Linked DNA regions of Homo sapiens: region 2 is linked to region 1. Evidence: promoter capture Hi-C in human tissues and cell types (Jung and others, 2019). All regions are on one chromosome and are shown on one strand. The core of a region is centred on a gene start or on the middle of the fragment in contact, and the rest is flanking DNA. Distances in the headings are between cores, read along the strand shown. Region 1 holds the start of NAPEPLD (N-acyl phosphatidylethanolamine phospholipase D). Region 2 has its middle 52 kb from the start of PMPCB.

Evidence for each region. Contacts are between HindIII fragments. The study calls those that stand out against the background at their distance.
Region 2: a fragment that was not itself captured here is called in contact with the fragment with the promoter of NAPEPLD in region 1 in 3 of the 25 tissues and cell types used here (bladder, heart right ventricle and liver).

Annotation. Positions count from the first base shown.
Region 1 is chr7:103,147,651-103,150,350 of GRCh38, forward strand. NAPEPLD (N-acyl phosphatidylethanolamine phospholipase D) reads right to left here and starts at 1,449. Exons shown (of 5, transcript NM_001122838.3): 1 at 1,161-1,449. It overlaps LOC105375434, which reads left to right. Exons shown (of 3, transcript XM_047421168.1): 2 at 1,368-2,700. The coding sequence ends at 2,170. The HindIII fragment of the contact is 5,120 bases long and covers 1-2,700 here.
Region 2 is chr7:103,243,954-103,246,653 of GRCh38, forward strand. It overlaps the pseudogene DPY19L2P2. Among named protein-coding and RNA genes, the nearest start is that of PMPCB, 52 kb to the right of the region's middle. The HindIII fragment of the contact is 4,146 bases long and covers 1-2,700 here.

The DNA of each region.
Region 1 (2,700 bases), core at 199-2,698:
AACCCTGTGATGGAATGCTTATGCTAAAATGTTCTTCATATAGTTATAACTGGACTAATTTTAAAATTAGAATTTTGTAACATAGAATTTCTACAATATAATTTGGAATTCTGAGTGAAAATAAGGGTATGAGAAATACACTAAGTATTTTTATCTCTTGGAGACTTACCATAATTCTTGTAGCAGGAAAGCCTGCAGAATGTTAACAAAACAAAATCTCTGAAAATCCTGACTATATTTTCAGTTGACTTGAAACAAATTTAACCCCTCAATCTCTCCTTAAATTATTATTTTAAATAAGTACTTTTACCCTAAATTTCTTCTTTAACAGACCCAGTATTTTCTTGCAACAAAAATCACACTATTGTGGGATATAGGTAATCTTCTTTTTAAAGATTACATAACTTCTTTCTAAACGATGTCCATGTCTGCGGCTAATTCATAACCAATGTAACTGAAAATAGAAATGGAAATGTTAGAGATTTCCATTTTTTAACAAACATGGGAATTATTTCTCAATTTGAAGAACTGCATCTCAGGAATGACTTCCTGGACAAATTAATCAGAATTATCAAGTAGCAAACATTTCATGCTAAGCCAAAGCCAACCAGGTGAGTCAGTCATATTATAACATGTATATATAACAACGTACAGTAAAGGCAAAGACAAGAACTAAATGACTTTTTAAAAGGCTGTTAAACTTTACTCACTCCCTTAATATTTTCCAGGTTTAACTGACGTATAATGAATGCATGTGATCCCGGAACCCATGGAAGAGTATCTACCATATCGAGCTCTAGCTTGAAAAAAAAAAAAAAGGAAAAAACAAACAAACAAAACAACAACAACAAAAACCTATCTGAATACGTGTTCTGAAAAGCCCACAATAATACCCAATTTATAAGAAGCAAACAACCACAGAACAGAAAACTCAAGAAAGCACAGCCTTCCACCACCCCTCCCCAGCTAGCCCCATTTTTTTTTTTGCTCTTCATTTCCATTCCATAGTTAAATAAGTACACTTATTCCAAAATAAAAGGGGAGAAACCTGTTGGAATGGATTTTTAGAAGATAAACACTATAGATGAAGCAACAATAAGTTGCTCGGAGGAAGTTGTCGACCCATTCATTTACATACAACCAAAAGAAGATAAACCCACATGTATTCCTATCAGTGAAGATGCAACCTGGTAATTTGCAGGGAAGATAGGATCTCAAATCCCAGACAGCTACTCTCCCAAAGAGAAAAAAAATAATGCTGTGGCTCTTCACCGAGGCAGCTTCAGAGATGCAGGCTCCGCAACTCGCGAGGTGCGAAAATTCAAATGAAGCCCTGTCGCTCACAAGTGCGGCATCTCCGAGATGAGGGAGGGCTCGGGGACGGGAAACCCACTCTCAGCCCGCTCCACTTCGCCGAAGAATTCCAAACCACCCCAGGCTCAGCAGTGTGGATTGCTCCGCCCAGAGACCGTGGAGGAGGCAGCAGAGAGGTCACAGAGCACAGCAGGCGGGAGAAAACCGCCTCCCGCGAGGTCCAACAGAAACCACGGAGCTCCGGACACTCGGGATCCCGGGCCGCGGGCGCGCGGCCAGAGCGGCGGGGTGCGAGCGCGGGGGTGCGGACTCACCTCGCGCTTGGGGTGGCCGGGAGCGCGCGCCGCCTCAGTTCCGCGGCTTCCGGCCACAGAGTCCCCGCGCAAAGCGCCGCCGCGTAGCGGGAGGGGCGACCGCGGCAGGCGCTCGGGTTCTTCCTAACCCGAGCCCGCCGCGCTGGCTCCGCCGAGGACGCCAGCAGCTGCAGGCAGCGCTTCAGCTCTCGCCGCCTCGCCATCGTTGGGGCGAGTCGTCGCCGGGTCACTCCCTTATTATGACCTTCGAATCTGACAGCAGGGCCAGCGGTGGCCTCCTTCAGGCTGCCTCTCCAGCCCTTACCAAGATGGCCGCCCCTGTGGGCCGGGGCGCCGAAGCCATCTTGGTAAAGGAAGCGCCTGGGAGCACGCGGCCTGCCCCGGCCCGCCTCGCGACTCAAACACTCTGCAGGGACCCTCCTAAGATCAAATTGGTTCCCCCCGCTGTCCTAAGCCAGAGGCTTACTTTCAGATCGCATGAACGCATTCCTGGACACCAGCCACAGTTGCTAAAACTAAATGGGATCCTGCAGACCCATTGACGGACTGTCATAGCCAACTCAATCACAGTCGAGAAGCATTTGAATACTTACAGCCTATGGCGCTAGGATCCTGGTAGCGAAGAAACTAAACTCTAATTTGAAATGTTGTACAGTACGTATTGAATATTAATGGGAGCACGGCATTGTTCACTGTGTGATCGTTTACTTTTAAAATGATGTCACAGCCCCCTGGTACACACGGTTCTCATCTAAATTTGCATCTTTTTTAACGCTAGGATAACTATGAAAGAGCATACGATTGTGATTCTGAGTTTCTTACTGGATTTGCTTTTTAAACTGCAGAATGAAATTAGTTGTTTCAAGAAGTAAAGTACAGGCATGTCGAAGTAAAATTCAACAATGGGTTGTTGGGCAAAAAGATTATAAAAGTCCTGGGGTGTGCCAGGGTCAAAAAAAAAAAAAAAAGCTTGTCCCTGGGGTTATCTTGGCAAAAAAGAAACCACCACCACAGGTTCTAAATGCAGATAAGACTGGCAGAAAAATGCAGACCAAACTATTCTGCATTTTGA
Region 2 (2,700 bases), core at 152-2,651, 96 kb after region 1:
TGGTTCAAGCTGATTCTTCTGTCTCAGCCTCCCGAGTAGCTGGGATTACAGGCACATGCCACCATACCTGGCTGATTTTTGTATTTTTAGTAGAGACGGTGTTTCGCCATGTTGGCCAGGCTGGTCTCAAACTCCTGACTTCAAGTGATCCAGCCGCCTCAGCCTCCCAAAGTGCTGGGATTACAGGCGTGAGCCACCGCACCCGGCCAAAAACCATTTCTTAAATTGCCTTTTTGTGATCATGTCTGTGTATAAGAATGCAGATGCTCAATCCCACATCTGTATAGTGTTTCTATGCTTCCATTTATCTTTTCTCCATACACCACTTCCCTAGTCTAACACATTCTAAGCACCATGAGGACAGGGACAGGTTCTTTATCTGTCTTGTTCATTGCTATATCCCCAGCTTCACACTTGGAAGATTAATAAATATTGGTTGAATTAATGAAGAAAGAAAGGAAGAAAACAGCAGAGGAAGGCTCATGGGAAATGATTTACCATTTAATAAAGCTTCACACAGAAAATACAAAGGATGAACTTCAAAGAGGAAGAAATTGAAAGAAAGAATGTGTGAGCAGCAAGGACCAATTGTACATGGAGGAACTGAGGAAATGTGGATAAATCAAAGTAAGATGAGTTGGCGGGGGGTGGAGCCAAGATGGCCGAATGGGAACAGCTCCAGTCTACAGCTCCCAGCATGAGCGATGCAGAAGACGGGTGATTTCTGCATTTCCAACTGAGGTACTGTGTTCATCTCACTGGGGATTGTCGGAAAGTGGGTGCAGGACAGTGGGTGCAGTGCACCGAGCATGAGCTGAAGCAGGGCTAGGCATTGCCTCACCCGGGAAGCGCAAGGGATCAGGGAATTCCCTTTCCTAATCAAAGAAAGGGGTGACAGAAGGCACCTGGAAAATTGGGTCACTCCCACCCTAATACTGCGCTTTTCCAGTGGTCTTAGTAAATGGCACACCAGGAGATTATATCCCGCACCTGGCTCAGAGGGTCCTATGCCCACGGAGCCTCCCTCATTGCTAGCACAGCAGTCTGAGATCAAACTGCAAGGCGGCAGCCAGGATGGGGGAGGGGCGCCTGCCATTGCCAAGGCTTGAGTAGGTAAACAAAGCAGCCAGGAAGCTCGAACTGGGTGGAGCCTCCCGCAGCTCAAGGAGGCCTGCCTGCCTCTGTAGACTCCACCTCTGGGGGCAGGACATTGCCAAACAAAAGGCAGCAGAATCCTCTGCAGACTTAAATGTCTCTGTCTGACAGCTTTGAAGAGAGTAGCGGTTCTCCCAGTACGCAGCTGGAGATCTGAGAACAGACAGACTGCCTCCTCAAGTGGATCCCTGACCTCCGAGTAGCATAACTGGGAGGCACCCCCAGTAGGGGCAGACTGACACCTCACACAGCCGGGTACTCCTCTGAGACAAAACTTCCAGAGGAATGATCAGGCAGCAACACTTGCTGTTCACCAATATCCACTGTTCTGCAGCATCCACTGCTGATACCCACGCAAACAGGGTCTGGAGTGGACCTCCAGCAAACTCCAACAGACCTGCAGCTGAGGGTCCTGACTGTTAGAAGGAAAACTAACAAACAGAAAGGACATCCACACCAAAACCCCATCTGTACGTCACCATCATCAAAGACCAAAGGTAAATAAAACCACAAAGATGGGGAAAAAAACAGAGCAGAAAAACTGAAAACCCTAAAAATCAGAGTGCCTCTCCTCCTCCAAAGGAACGCTGCTCCTCACCAGCAACGGAACAAAGCTGGATGGAGAATGACTTTGACGAGTTGAGAGAAGAAGGCTTCAGATGATCGAACTACTCTGAGCTAAAGGGAGTTTGAACCCATGGCAAAGAAGTTAAAAACCTTGAAAAAAAAATTAGACGAATGGCTAACTAGAATAACCAATGCAGAGGAGTCCTTAAAGGACCTGATGGAGCTGAAAACCAAGGCACGAGAACTACATGACGAATGCACAAGCCTCAGTAGCCAATTCGATCAACTGGAAGAAAGGGTATCAGTGATGGACAATCAAATGAATGAAATGAAGCGAGAAGAGAAGTTTAGAGAAAAAACAATAAAAAGAAACGAACAAAGCCTCCAAGAAATATGGGACTATGTGAAAAGACCAAATCTACATCTGATTGGTGTACCTGAAAGTGACAGGGAGAATGGAACCAAGTTGGAAAACACTCTGCAGGATATTATCCAGGAGAACTTCCCCAGTCTAGCAAGGCAGGCCAACACTCAAATTCAGGAAATACAGAGAATGCCACAAAGATACTCCTCGAGAAGAGCAACTCCAAGACACAGAATTGTCAGATTCACCAAAATGGAAATGCAGGAAAAATTGTTAAGGGCAGCCAGAGAGAAAGGTCAGGTTACCCACAAAGGGAAGCCCATGAGACTAACAGCGGATCTCTCAGCAGAAACTCTACAAGCCAGAAGTGAATGCGGGCCAATATTCAACATTCTTAAAGAAAAGAATTTTCAACCCAGAATTTCATATCCAGCCAAACTAAGCTTCGTAAGTGAAGGAGAAATAAAATCCTTTACAGACAAGCAAATGCTGAGAGATTTTGTCACCACCAGGCCTGCCCTAAAAGAGCTCCTGAAGGAAGCACTAAATATGGAAAGGAACAACTGGTACCAGCCACTGCAAAAACAAGCCAAATTGTAAAGAACATCAAGGCT